Regions from separate parts of the Homo sapiens genome. Here region 2 is linked to region 1. Evidence: promoter capture Hi-C in 16 types of primary human blood cells and fetal thymus (Javierre and others, 2016). All regions are on one chromosome and are shown on one strand. Each heading gives the region's core, a stretch centred on a gene start or on the middle of the fragment in contact. The rest is flanking DNA. Distances are from core to core; before and after follow the strand shown.

Region 1 (7,229 bases), core at 1-2,500:
CCTATTGGTGTCCCTTACGACAGAGACTCGAGTAGTGGTGAGGTAGTGTTGTGTCAGAGACTCGAGTAGTGGTGAGGTAGTGTTGTGTCAGTCTGGCTACTTTACTGATGGTGTCCATGTTTCTGAGTGTCATCAGGGAGATGGCAGCGACGAGGGAGATGGCCCATTTCCTGTTCCTGCTACAGTAGAGCAGGGGCTCTTTGGACAGTGTCTATGCTGGCCCTCTGGGGAGGACAAGATTTCCTGCTCAGCACCGTCTGGGTCTCAGAGAAAAAGGCTCAGCCACCAAGTGTGTCCTAGGCGGTGGGGAAGATAAAGGTTTGGCATCCTGGGTGGAAGAAACACCCAAAGGAAGAGAACGTTTTAGATTCTGGAGCCTGGGCAGCACAAATAAAGGCTCTGACTGGCTCTGGTTTGGGAAATCTGCGTCTTAAAGACCTTTCCTCCATTACAAATATTCTCCCCATTCAACAACCAGTTTGGAAATTCCCCCCCATTCTGCTGTTCAGGGAGCACTGCTACGCACACACCCAACACTTATGGACGTACCTGCGCACCAATAATACACGCGCATCACACATTACCTGCCGAGAACACGCAGAAACACAACACACAGACCCCAGTACACCTGGACCGGAGGCAGGAGGCTGTTCCACATCCACGCATCTCCTAAAATACACACGAGGACTAGGGAAGGTGAGGACTGGCGGCGTGAGCCCGGCCCTGCACTCAGACACGTGAGCCAAGCAACACTCGGCGCGCATCTGTGATCCGGGTTAAGTGCGCACCTTGGACAGGCGCCATCCCCAGGACCCGCTTGCCCGAACGCACTCCTAGGCAGACGGCAGATTACCGCCCGAGCGCGGCGCACCCAAAGCCCCACATCCAAAGGAAAAGGCACCGAGGGCTAGTGAGCGAGGAGAGGGGAGATGAGCGGCGCTGCCTTGGAAGGGCACTCGGGAACTAGCGAGAACCACAGTGGGAGTGGGGGCAAGCCCGTCCCCTGCCCTGTCCCAGGAGCCTTACTGATCCTGGTGCTGCGGCTGGTGGCTGTGTGGCGTCTCTCTGCCCTGCGCCGCGGCCTCACTGAGGTGGTGCCGGACGCCCCCGCCAAGGAGGGGGCTCCGGCTCGGGTGACCCCAGCCTCCTCGCCCGCAGTGACTGCCAGCCCGGCTCAGGGCCTTCTGCAGAGCCTTCATGGAGCGCATGCCCCAGCAAGCCTCCGGCTCTGCAGGTGCGCCCGGGACCTCTAGCTGTGGCTGGGAAGGAGGGGCGGAGCGAGCGAGACAAGGTGCGGGGGAGTTCTGTGAGGGAGCGCTGGACCTGGAAGACGGAGAATGTGGGCCCGGTGGGTGGGGCTGGGGCTGGGGCAGGAGAAGGGGCCTGCCCCTTTAAAGCTGGCTCCAGGGTTAGGGGCACCCTCAGGACAGGGGCTAGGTGAGGAGCGTTGGGGATGAAGGAGAACCCGGGTGGCTTTCTAGTGGGTGGAGAGAGGGCGGTGCCTGGGAGCTGGAATGGACAATGCCCAGGTCCAATCACTGAGGAAGCAAAAACATTGAGGCGGGGAAAGGGTAAGGTTGCCCAATGAGAGCAAGACGGTGGGACCTTGCGACAGTCTGCGGATGCTTCCGCGTGGGCCCGGCGAGCGCGGGTATCCGCGGATGCTGAGGGCGGGAAAGGCGAGGACAAGCTGAGGCGAAGCCGGTGGGGGCGGGAGGCGCTCCCCGGGAACACCGTGGGGCTGCGAATGATGGAGTTGTCGTGTAGAGAGGAGGGTGCTGCCTCGAGAGAGGAGGCTAAGTAAGAGTGAGCCCAGTTCAGGAGGTCACTCAGAGAGCCTCGACCTCCGAAGGCCAAACCAGCGCCCAGTAACCCGGCGGGTAGCGTGGCGCGCGGCCGACGTGCGGTGGTGCTGAGTGGAGAGTAGGATGACTGCTGGGTACCCCGGGCAGAAGCAGCCGACCAGCACCTCAGGGAGGCATTGGGCGGCGGGAAGGTCGCTCTGGCGGTTAGGAAGCCTGGGTTCCAGTTTGTGTCCCTCTACCATTTATTTGGTGTAGGACTTGTTTTCAAATCTGGAAAGTTAAGACATTAAAATAAGTTGGCACGCAGAAAAACGTTTTATAAACCATGAAGTGCTCCCCACATTTTTCCTATTTTAATTGTTTGCCCTTGTCCTCCTCACGGGCAGAAAAGAGGCGATATACAAAAAGCATTTTGAAATCCAAGAACATTCAGGACTTTTGCCATTTGCAGCTAGAACTTTCACCTTGTATCTCGGCAGCGCCTAACCCAGCATCCATATTTAGTAGGGACTCATTATGTAAATGATAGCTATTATTGAGTGCCCATGGTGTTCCAACCGCTTAGTTTCTCTCTCCCTCTTACCAGAGACCTACAAAGTAGTTATTAGTCTCAATTTGAAGGTGAGGAAACTAAGACTAGGAAATTAAGAATTCTCGCATAAGGTAACCCAGCTAGTAAGTACCAGAACCAGAAATTAGACCCGTTTTTTTTTTTTAACTACAAGTCTCTCCTTCATGCAGCCCTTCTCAAAAATTAAGCATTGAATTGAATTATCCCGGGAGAAATGACCCCATCCCTAAAGGAGGTATTTTATGTGGAAGTATTATGATACAGTACTGGGAGTCTTTTCCTTGTGATAGTTCTGGCTGTATCACAAAATACTAGTTTTTGTTTGTTTGTTTTTGAGACGAAGTTTTGCTCTTGTTGCCCTAGCTGGAGTGCAATGGCGCAATCTCGACTCACTGCAACCTCCGCCTCCTGGGTTCATGCGATTCTCCTGCCTCAGCCTCCCTAGTAGCTGGGATTACAGGCGCCTGCTACCTCGCCCAGCTAATTTTTTGTATTTAGTAAAGATGTGGTTTCGCCATATCGGTCAGGCTGGTCTCAAACTCCTGACCTCAGATGATCCGCCCGCCTCAGCCTCCCACAAGTGCTGGGATTACAGGCATGAGCCACCGTGCTTGTCCCATAGTTTTCATTTTTGGATTAAAATGAGTTTCAAGGGTACTCGTGGGAAAACAAGTACTGAAACCAGTCAGGTGTGTTCTGTGGAAAGGCAGTTCTCCTTTGCCTTGGTTAGGGTTGGAGGGCTTATTTGGCTTAAAACCAGATGGAGTGACATTTGTTTTTGCTTGTTTTCGCCTTCTGTAGTCATTCTGTGTCTGCTGTATCTGTTCTCCTGTCCGTGGAAAGCCGTCTAATTCTGGGAGGGCTTGCTGCTTTATGCTTGGCTTTGCCCAAGAGGCAGAGTTCTGGGTCTCAATACTTAACGTAAACTCAATCCTGCATTAGTTTTTTTCATACGTAACAGACGAATCTTATCCTTGTTTCATAGAAATATGATTTATCTGAAACGTTTTGATCTATTCAAGAGAAAAATACCATCTGTTAGGGAATTTCTAAACATTACCCAGAAGTAATTTGCTTCCTTTTTTTCCTATTTCTGCCTCTTTGAATTAGCTTTATACTCTAATGAGTTCCTTACTCTCTTTCTCCCAGCACTCTTCCACTAATAGGAACTGGTTGGGTAGTGAAGAAGATCTATGCATGGAAGCAGAGGTTCTTTGCTTAGAGAACTAGCTCCAGCTGCACTTGGACCTTTGGACTAACTGTCTCCAATACAATATTGCTGTCTTTGCATGAGGATGGAGCATGAACTGGTGACTTGGGAGGCCAATGGTACTGTGTAAAGTATAAGATGCTGGAGAAGAACAAGTTTGTTGTCCCAGGTGGTTAAAGCTTGGCAGGGTCAGGTCCTCTTTTTGTTTCTAATTTGAAAAATACTCATCATCTAGTTTAATTTGTGCAAAACTATTAGCCAACTATGACAAGGGCAGCTAGAAATGAAGATTTTCATAACTGAAAGAAAGTTCTTTGTGTCTCTAACAGTGGGCTTTTAGGTTAGTCCATGGCTGTGCCAGAGTTTTGTGGTATGTGAGAGAGGATTAGACTTAATGATTTTGAATCCTTAATAAAAGCTAAATCCGGGCCGGGCGCGGTGGCTCATGCCTGTAATCCCAGCTGCTCAGGAGGCTGAGGCAGGAGAATTGCTTGAATCTGGGAGGCGGAGGTTGCGGTGAGCTGAGATCACGCCATTGCACTCCAGCCCGGGCAACAAGAGCAAAACTCCGTCTCAAACAAAAAAAAAAAAAGAAAAGAAAGAAAGAAGGAAAAGCTAATCCTCTGTGATAGGAAATTGATGTTTGGAGTTTGTTTATTTCTTATGATTTAGAGACTCATTTGTTCTACTCTATTTTGTGTGTGTGTGTGTGTGTGTGTGTGTGTGTGTGTGTGATGGAGTCTCGCTCTGTCGTCCATGCTGGAGTGCAATGGTGTGATCTTGGCTCACTGCAACATCCGCCTCCCGGGTTCAAGCAATTCTCCTGCCTCAGCCTTCCGAATAGCTGGGATTACAGGCACCCGCCAATATGCTCGGCTAATTTTCGTATTTTTAGTAGTGACGGAGTTTCACTATGTTGGCCAGGCTGGTCTCGAACTCCTGACCCCTTGATTTGCCCGCCTCAGCCTCTCAAAGTGCTAGGATTGCAGGTGTGAGCCACCGCACCTGGCCTGTTCTACTCTTTAGACTGTAGCTAGGATGTTAATTGGTCCAAGTAAAAGATTAGTTCATTTTTTTATTAATCTTTGTTAATGATACTATTGTTACAAACTCCTTTCTGCCTTAGTTTCTCCATTTGTAAAAGATAAACTTGTATTTTACTGGGTAAAATGTAAGTACTTGGGGCTCTGACATAATGAGCTTCCATTCACTCAATTAATATTTATTTGTTGGCATTCAGTGTGCCAGGTCCAGTGCTGGAAAATCCAGAAATTTAAAAATTTAATAAACCAGTTTCTACTGGGAGAAATGAGAAAGCTTATGTTTAAAATTCCTAATGAAAAATGCTGTGATGTAGAGACATGCAGAAGAAAGTATAAAGGGGACATCTAACTAAGCTGGGGGTGAAGGGCCACTGGGATAGAAGAGGAATGGTGACTGACAGGAGCTGGTTTTTAAAGCACGAGAGGTGTTTCAGACAGAGGGCTCTACAAGAATAAACATAGCCTGAGAGGAACATTTGAGGGACTCTACCTCTAGTTTGGTTGGAATGAAACGTGGGTATAAGAATGTGGACCAGCCGGGCGTGGTGGCTTATGCCTGTAATCCCAGCACTTTGGGAGACTGAGGTGGGCAGATCACAAGGTCAGGAGTTCGAGACCAGCCTGACCAACACGGTGAAACCCCATCTCTACTGAAAATACAAAAATTAGCCAGGCGTGGTGGCATGCACCTGTAATCTCAGCTACTCAGGAGGCTGAGGCAGGAGAATCAGTTGAACCTGGGAGGCAGAGGTTGCAGTGAGCCAAGATCGCGCCACTGCACTCCAGCCTGGGTGACAGCGAGACTCCATCTCAAAAAAAAAAAAAAAAAAAAAAAAAAGAATGGGGACCAATGAAACTGAGGATGTAGGTATGGGATGCATGTTTTAACTTGATGCTAGACTTTCATGGAGTAAATGAAATTTAATAAAAGTTTAAGCGTGTCTGTGATCTACTCCAGTGTGCTTTCCTAATTCTTCTTTGGTTTAGCAATAACAAAATGAACATTTATAGGACTGAAAAAATATAAATATAAGCCTATTAAAAAACATATCATCACACTGGTCCATTTACGATGCCTAACATGCATTTTCTCTATTTTTCCAAATAATATCTTGTATAATCTGGGTTCTCCAATAGCTATTAAAGTAGATTCTAGCAAGTCTTAATCAACAAAATATACTAAAATAATGTAGATTTTGCTAGAATTCCTAAAAAGGATTTAGAAAAGTCTGTAGGCGAAAGCTAATTTGAAGGAATTTGAAAGCCTTTGCCAACACAGCAAGAAGAAAATACCTTCGGGGTTTGCTTGATAGCATTTTCTTTTTTCTTTTTTCCCTTCTCCAAGTTATTGCTAGAGAAATAGTATTTTAATACTTGTTTTTCTTTGACTTAAAGACTATGAAAGATGTCAGAATCTTGTATTACTCTGTAGTGAACAAATGAGACCCTTCTCTAAAAGACTAGGTTAAATTAACTTTTAACCACATTTACCTAAGTGAAATGCTCCATAAGCCATATTTTATTAAGATTGTATATAATTTGAAATTTTTTACATCACCTACTTTGACCTGTCAGTTTGCAAAAAAACTGTCATTCTAGTTTTCTGATTTTCAGGAAAGTTTTTTTTTTTTTTTAACTGTATGAATTTTCTTTTTTTTTTTTTTTTTAAGTATTTATTGATCATTCTTGGGTGTTTCTCGGAGAAGGGGATGTGGCAGGGTCATAGGATAATAGTGGAGAGAAGGTCAGCAGATAAACATGTGAACAAAGGTCTCTGGTTTTCCTAGGCAGAGGTCCCTGCAGCCTTCCACAGTGTTTGTGTCCCTGGGTACTTGAGATTAGGGAGTGGTGATGACTCTTAATGTGCATGCTGCCTTCAAGCATCTGTTTAACAAAGCACATCTTGCACCGCCCTTAATCCATTTAACCCTGAGTTGACACAGCACATGTTTCAGAGAGCACGGGGTTCGGGTAAGGTTATAGATTAACAGCATCCCAAGGCAGAAGAATTTTTCTTAGTACAGAACAAAATGGAGTCTCCTATGTCTACTTCTTTCTACAGACACAGTAACAATCTGATCTTTCTTTTCCCCACATTTCTCCCTTTTCTTTTCGACAAAACCGCCATCGTCATCATGGCCCGTTCTCGATGGTCGCTGTCTCTTCAGAGCTGTTGGGTACACCTCCCAGACGGGGCGGCTGGGCAGAGTCGCTCCCCACTTCCCAGACGGGGTGGCTGGGCAGAGGTGCTCCTCACTTCCCAGAGGGGGCGGCCGGGCAGAGGCGCTCCTCACTTCCCAGAGGGGGCGGCCGGGCAGAGGCGCTCCTCACTTCCCAGAGCGGGTGGCCAGGCAGAGGTGCTCCTCACTTCCCAGATGGGGCAGCCGGGCAGAGGCGCTCCTCAATTCCTAGACAGGGTGGCGGCTGGGCAGAGGTGCTCCTCACTTCCCAGATGGGGCGACCAGGCAGAGATGCTCCTCACTTCCCAGACGGGGCGGCCGGGCAGAGGCGCTCCCCACTTCCCAGACAGGGCGGCCGGGCAGAGGCACTCCCCACTTCCCAGACGGGGCAGCTGGGCAGAGACGCTCACTTCCCAGATG
Region 2 (7,229 bases), core at 2,508-5,007, 280 kb before region 1:
CATCTCCATTAGGGACTAAGTTCTTTGCAGGTAGGTGCCATTTTGCTACATAAGCCTCCTCATGTTCACTCTAGTGAGTATCTCACAGGGCAGACATTCAATGAATATTTGTTTCTAAAAATCGTATCTTCTGTAAAAGGACAATATGACACCATTCATAACATTCACAAGAATGAGCAGCAAGTTCTAAAAGTAATTTTAAAGGAGTTTAAGGGGGGAAAAGCACTGCTAATGTCACTAGGATACATACATTGCCTCTTATGCTCTATACTGTGACATGCTTATCAGTATTTTATAAACATACCTTGTGTGCATAGAAGCGCAGACTCAGCACAGAAATGCCTTTTTTTTTTTTTTCAAGCCACTAGAGTATCAAGAGTACTATTAGGTTTACATCAGGTGCATGATAAATGCTCAAATTTAAAACAAACTTCTGGGAGGAGGAAAAGATATCCCTTTTTCTTTTCTTTTCTTTTTTTTTTTTGAGACAGGCTCTTGCTCTGTCACCAGGCTGGAGTGCAGTGGCATGATCTCAGCTCACTGCAACCTCCACCTCCCAGGTTCAAGCGATTCTTGTGCCTTAGCCTTCCAAGGAGCTGGGATCATAGTGGCGTCCCACCATGTCTGGCTATCCTTTTTCTTATGACAGGGAAAGGTAGCAGCAAATACTTATGAAGACTGGTTTTTTTTTTTTTTTTTTTGAGACGGAGTCTTGCTCTGTTGCCCAGGCTGGAGTGCAGTGGCGTGATCTCAGCTCACTGCAAGCTCCGCCTCCCAGGTTCACACCATTCTCCTGCCTCAGCCTCCTGAGTAGCTGGGAGGACAGGCGCCTGTCCGGCTAATTTATTTATATTTTTAGTAGAGACAGGGTTTCACCATGTTAGCCAGGATGGTCTCGATCTCCTGACGTTGTGATCCACCCACCTTGGCCTCCCAAAGTGCTGGGATTACAGACGTGAGCCACCGTGCCCGGCCTATGAAGACTTTTTTTTTTTTTTTTTTTTTTAGACGGAGCCTTGCTCTGTCGCCCAGGCTGGAATGCAGTGGCCCAATCTCTGCTCACTGCAAGCTCTGCCTCCCGGGTTCACGCCATTCTCCTGCCTCAGCCTCCTAAGTAGCTGGGACTACAGGTGCCTGCCACCACGCCCGGCTAATTTTTTGTATTTTTAGTAGAGACGGGGTTTCACTGTGTTAGCCAGGATGGTCTCGAACTCCTGACCTTGTGATCCACCCACCTCGGCCTCCCAAAGTGCTGGGATTACAGGCGTGAGCCACCGCGCCCGGCTATGAAGACTATTTTTATAAGTAAATAATTATGAAACCTCTGCAAGTACATTTCCCTCCTCACATTTACGTTCTTAGCTAGGAAACACTGGGAGGTAGAGACTTCTCTGCCTGCAAAGGAATTCTAGATTCTAAAGCAAAGTTGCTTGTGGGACAAAGGAAAAAGATATATACATATCTTCTGTAGAAATTATCCCAAAAACTCAGGACCACTCAGGGAAGACATGGAATTTAGGATAAAGGCAGACCCTGGGAAGCACACAGTTCAGATCACTAGAGAGCTTTGGCTGCTACAGAACAGGAGATAGGAGGGAAGAATGCAGGAGGGTACATGGGAAAGCAGCTGTGAAGTGCACACTACTCCCAGACATCCTCCTGAAAGAGAAGTTAGCACTAAGATAAGGGTAGGTAACAAAGTAAGGAAGAAAGGGAATTAAGGTGAGAGAAAGGCAAAAGCAGAGGGGAAACCTTCTCAAGAAAGGGAGTAATGCTGAAGAATTTAGAGAGTTGAGTAAAAGGTTTATTATTAGTGCAGTCAACACCATGGAACAGCACATACAACACAACCAGCAACCTGCAGAGACACTAGTGCAAAGGGTAGGGAAGCCTTTCACTGAGCTTCCTGGCTCCATCTGAGGGTAAGGACAGGACAGTATGAGCCTTGGTTAAGGCAGGTAGGGGAAAGGGGAGTGGAAGAAATGTAGTAACCAGAGTAAGTATAGCAGCGTTTTCAAATTCCTGAGCACAATGTCCCAGAGCTGGAACCCTACTCCCCTCAAGCTTTCCACCCCAATCCCAGTGGAGCCATGATCCAACTACCCAGACCTGCAGCAAGCTAGCCTGGAATAAAATTCTGAGAGGAAGCCATTACATGGTGGGGAGGAGCCTTTCTATCTCCAACCACACTCCCACCTCCATATTAAAATAATCACACCTATTATCTCTCCCCTTCTCTTACTCTGCCAGTCACTCTAGGGATCAAGGTATACCCCAGGTAACCTGAAATGGAACTGAAGTCCCCAGGGGGGTGTGGGTGAGACACGGCACAGCCTGTACTTAGAGATAAAATTTCTGATTTGCATGGTGAAGCTTAGAACCCAGCTATACAGCTCCAAGGAAACTTGGGGAAGGGGGAGTTGCCTTCAAAATGAATACTCTAAATCCAGAGTTTTATGATAAGGCCCTGGAAGGGCTAGGAGGAAATTTTTCCAGAGGGCACAGGCATCGATGCTGGACTGTCATATCCTTCACAGGAAGAGAGGAAGCTCCTCATTTCAGTTGGGGTTACAGAGGTTTGGGGCAGATATCGTAAGTTCAGCCGAGGACTCCCTTGGCTCTTCCTATATTAAAGCCAAAGGTTGTGCTGAAAAGGAAAAAATATAAAACACACCCCCATCCCTGTCCCACCCTATCCAGAACCCCCACAATAGGAACATCAAAAGAAAAGTTTCAAGTTTGATTTTTTTTTCTTTTTTCCTTTCTTAAAAAAAAAAAAAGGAAGTAAATAAATTAAATTGCCAACAATGTGGCTGAGATAGCCATGATCAGGCCATTCTTAAAAAAAAGAGGGGGGGGGGCAGTAGGTGGAGTTTGTGAAATATAAACAAACAATGGCCAAAGAAAATTATCAAAGTAACTAACTACAGTCACAGGGCTAGAGAGGGGTCTATGGAACAATTATGGCCTGTGCCACAAGAGGCAGTGCCAACCATATTTTAGCAAAAGCTAGGAGTAGCTTCTTGCTAAACACATCAACCCCCAACAGATTAACCCCTACCCTAAACCCTGGCATTCCCTAATTATGAAAACTTGTAGGAAAGAAGAGCTCATCTGGAAATTTTCAGTATCCCAACCTGCATACTGGTAGACCCAGTGGGTGCCTACACCTTTAAGGTGGGCTGAACAGGGATACTGCTTGGCACAGAGGTCCAGTCTTTCCCTAAGGGCCATCAGTGATGGCCAATTAACGGCCTCACTACTTATTTCTAGAGATTTGGCTCCACCCTTACCATTTCTTCAGGATGTCTGCTGCTTAGAGTCAACAGGCCTGACTGCTCTGATTCCCTGGTTTTGGAGGAGAGGGACGATTAGAGATTCCTTCCTCTGTCCTGATCCTCCAGGGAAATTGAATCTCTTTGTGCTTTCTGAAAATAACTGGAACCAGGGACCCTAAGCAGGAAAATGGATGGAGGTGGGGGCTTTCCCACCCAGACTGATAATTTATAGACATTTTAGGGGAATATGGCAAAGGGAGGAAATCTGGGTTTCCCACCTGAAAGGCTGAGCAAACTACCCCAAGGCCCTTCAGTGCCAGAAGGGCAGGGAGATGTGTGGCTCAGGTATAAGCCACAGTATTAAGAATGGTGGGTAGGACTCAGGTCCCAGCTGCTGGAGTGATGGGATTTTCTGATTTCCATCTCTTCCTGATAGCCAGTCGAGTTCTCTTATATCTCTTCCACGCCATGCGCAAATATCATGACAAGGCCTGGCTCTTGCACCATGTCATCCCCCATGTGCTGGTTCTCACAGGCCATCACGACAACAGCCTGCTTGCCAGGGATGCGCTTGGCCACGTAGTTCTCATAGTAGCGTCGGTTCATCTGTCTAGTCTCTAGTGTGGCCAGACCCTGGGGCCAGCTACGCTCGTGGGCATTTTCAATCAGCTCGTTGACAATAGAAGCAGGACAGCCACTCTCCACCAGGGAGCGCTTGATTACAGCCTGGAGCACAGCATCAGGAGTCGAGATCATCCCTCCCCAGCGGGTCACTCTTGCTGGCTGAAGGGAGTTCACCCACCTGTGTGGAGGTGGTTAAAGATGGTCATTCCAGCTCATCTCCTTTCTCTGTATTGGCTTTTTCTGCTAATAGAAATAACTACCCACTCTGCACTCAGCTTACCTATTCTTCCTTCTTTCCTTCCATCATTGGCTCAGAAACCCCAAATCTTTCCCCACTTGGTCCCAACTGAGTCACCACATGTTACTCACCAGATTAAATTCCACAAGTCTGCACTCTGTCTCTGTTACTTTTCTTTGAAATTCCAATACTTAGCACATATAGCGCCTAACACAGTTAGTGCTCTATGTTTAGTGAATAAAACAATTATTCCTCTATCCTATGTCCCACTCAGCACTATTTGCCCTGTATATATTGATTCACACTTACAGTTTACTCTATGAACTGTATAGGACTCCAGAACTGAAAGAGATCTTAGACTTCACTTGTATACTTCGCTTGTTTTTGCTGCATTTTAGAGATCACTTTCCTGGACTTGCACTCTGCCTCCTCTTCTCTGGGTTGTAAGCTACCTGAAGACAGGACGATATCTTCTATTTCTTTTTGGCCCTCCTAGCACTCCACAGCCTTTAATACAGGGCTTTGTACATGGGTACTCACCTAATTCTGGATAAAGTGCATCCTTGGGCAGGCTTTCCCTCCATCCACCCAAACACATAAGACATCCTGTAGTGGAGCTAAGGGTTATCCTCTTCTCCTCTGCCCCTGTCCTTAATGCCAATATCTGAGAAGCAGTGACCCCCAGCCCAGCTCTCCAATGCCCTCCTTCTGCTACTCTCCTGCTCTTCCTCCTTTCAGGCCTTGTTGTCAGGACATGAAATCACTCCACGTCCTGAGTGACACTCACTCTAGGATCTCGTTGTATTCAATTGTCTCCTCCAGGTTCTGAAGGTTGGGGTTGACACTGCGGATTGCACGCATGTATGCCTTTAGCAGCTGGATGTCTCGCTTCTGTTGTGGGGAAGAAGAACAGGAATAATGGTTAAGGCAGACAGCAGAAAAAAGACAAAAGTTTATCCAAGAATGAGGGCAACTGAGAGATCTGAAGAACAACCAGTTTGTAAGCTTCAGGAAGACAGGGATAAGACTGTCTCACTCACAGCTGTCTCCTTAGTACTTACAAATGTGCCTTCACAGAGGAGGCATGTGATAACTGGTAGGTGAATTAATGCTATGAATGGGATGAAGAAAAGTCAAGGAGAGCTCCAATCTGATTCCCTGCTAAGCCACAGGCAGAATATCCACTCATCTAGGCTCACAAGTGTAAGCACTGGTCTGTGTGTTCACAACTGGTTTTTATTACCCACAGGCAGGCAGTTATCTGCATATGAGGGATATGTTCTCCCCCGTGTCTTGGGGCCTACCTGCTCCGCCAGCTGGTGTTTGTGTTCAGCTGACGTCTTCTCCAGCTCTGCGATGCGTGTCTGCTGCTGCTGTACCACTGAGCGCAGGTGCTTAATGCAGTTATGGTTGGGCAGCTCATCTTTGGGCATCTCCAGGCTGCAGACCAGGGTGGGGAAAGAGCAGAACAGAGGTGATCCCTGGGACATGTATGCAAATGGCCTATTCTGTGGCAGATAACTGCTAAGTAGATTTTGTCCTACCCAAAATTTCTAACATTCATTTCAGGCCTCCCTCTTGTTTATTCCCTTCACTTTCTTCGTCCAAGCTTCCTACTTGCCCCTTTGCTGTCTATTTTCCTTAAATTTCTTTCCCCAATCAAGACACAGTGTTTTATCTATTTTTTAAATTTATTTTATTTTGTATTTTTATTATTTTTTTTGACACGGAGTTTCGCTCTTGTTGCCCAAACTGGAGTGCGATGGCATGATCTCAGCTCAGCGCAACCTCTGCCTCCCAGGTTCAAGCGATTCTCCTGCCTCAGCCTCCCGAGTAGCTGGGATTACAGGTGCGCGCCACCATGGCCGGCTAACTTTTTGTATTTTTAGTAGAAATGGGGTTTCTCCATGTTAGCCAGGCTGGTCTCAAACTCCTGGCCTCACGTGATCTGCCCCCCTCGGCCTTCCAAAGTGTTGGGATTACAGGCGTGAGCCACCGCGCCTGGCCTTTTTTTTTTTTTTTCGAGACCAAGTTTCACTCTTGTCACCCAGGCTGGAGTGCAATGGCACGGTCTCAGCTCACTGCAACCTCCGCCTCATGGGTTCAAGTAATTCTTGTGCCTCAGCCTCCCGAGTAGCTGGGATTACAGGTGCCCACCACCACACCTGGCTAATTTTTATATTTTTAGTAGAGATGGGGTTTCACCATGTTGGCCACGCTGGTCTTGAACTCCTGACCTCAGGTGATCCGCCCGCCTCGTCCTCCCAAAGTGCTGGGATTACAGGCGTGAGCCACCGCACGGGGCCTATTTATTTATTTTGACACACTGTTTTTATCTACTGCACAGCTCTCCTTTTCCTCCTACAGATTCTGCCTGTGCACTTATTCCTTCAGAGAAGCCCTATATTCACAGCCCCAGCTATCAACATTCTTTTTATTTTTTAGTTAGGGGGAACAGAGTCTCATTCTGTCACCCAGGCTGGAGTGCAATGGCGCGATCTCAGCTCACTACAACCTCTACCTCTGGTTTTAAGTGATTCTCATGCCTCAGCCTCCTGAGTAGCTGGGATTACAGGCGAGCACCACCACACTTGGCTAATTTTTTTTTTTTTTTTTTGAGACGGAGTCTCGCTCTGTTGCCCAGGCTGGAGTGCAGTGGCTCAATCTCTGCTCACTGCAAGCTCCCCGTCCCAGGTTCATGCCGTTCTCCTGCCTCAGCCTCCCAAGTAGCTGGGACTACAGGTGCCTGCCACCACGCCTGGCTAGTTTTTTGTATTTTTAGTAGAGACGGGGTTTCAATGTGTTAGCCAGGATGGTCTCAATCTCCTGACCTCGTGATCCACCCGCCTTGGCCTCCCAAAGTGCTGGGATTACAGGCGTGAGCCACCGCGCCCGGCCCCACACCTGGCTAATTTTTGTATTTTTAGTAGAGACAAGGTTTTGCCATGTTGGCCAGGTTGGTCTTGAACTCCTGGCCTGAAGTGACTTGCCCACTTCGGCCTCCCAAAGTGCTAGGATTACAGGTGTGAGCTAACATGCCCTTCAGCTATCAACATTTAGTCGAATATTTCATAACCCACAGAAATAAA

The links. Contacts are between HindIII fragments. The CHiCAGO score rates a contact against its expected background, and 5 or more counts as called.
Region 2: a fragment that was not itself captured here is called in contact with the fragment with the promoter of GLS2 in region 1 in 5 of 17 cell types (naive CD4 T cells, total B cells, activated CD4 T cells and 2 more); the score reaches 6.0 in naive CD4 T cells.

The regions. Positions count from the first base shown.
Region 1 is chr12:56,486,911-56,494,139 of GRCh38, forward strand. It overlaps GLS2 (glutaminase 2), which reads right to left and starts at 1,251. Exons shown (of 18, transcript NM_013267.4): 1 at 1,027-1,251. The coding sequence starts at 1,208. It overlaps LOC124902944 (a long non-coding RNA gene), which reads left to right. Exons shown (of 2, transcript XR_007063331.1): 1 at 1-42; 2 at 77-422. RefSeq lists an enhancer at 788-1,007 and a silencer at 1,168-1,597. The HindIII fragment of the contact is 16,217 bases long and covers 1-3,763 here.
Region 2 is chr12:56,202,719-56,209,947 of GRCh38, forward strand. It overlaps RNF41 (ring finger protein 41), which reads right to left. Exons shown (of 7, transcript NM_005785.4): 5 at 5,445-5,580; 6 at 4,928-5,031; 7 at 1-4,080. The coding sequence ends at 3,729. Among named protein-coding and RNA genes, the nearest start is that of RNF41, 16 kb to the right of the region's middle. RefSeq lists a silencer at 5,412-5,461. The HindIII fragment of the contact is 2,772 bases long and covers 2,372-5,143 here.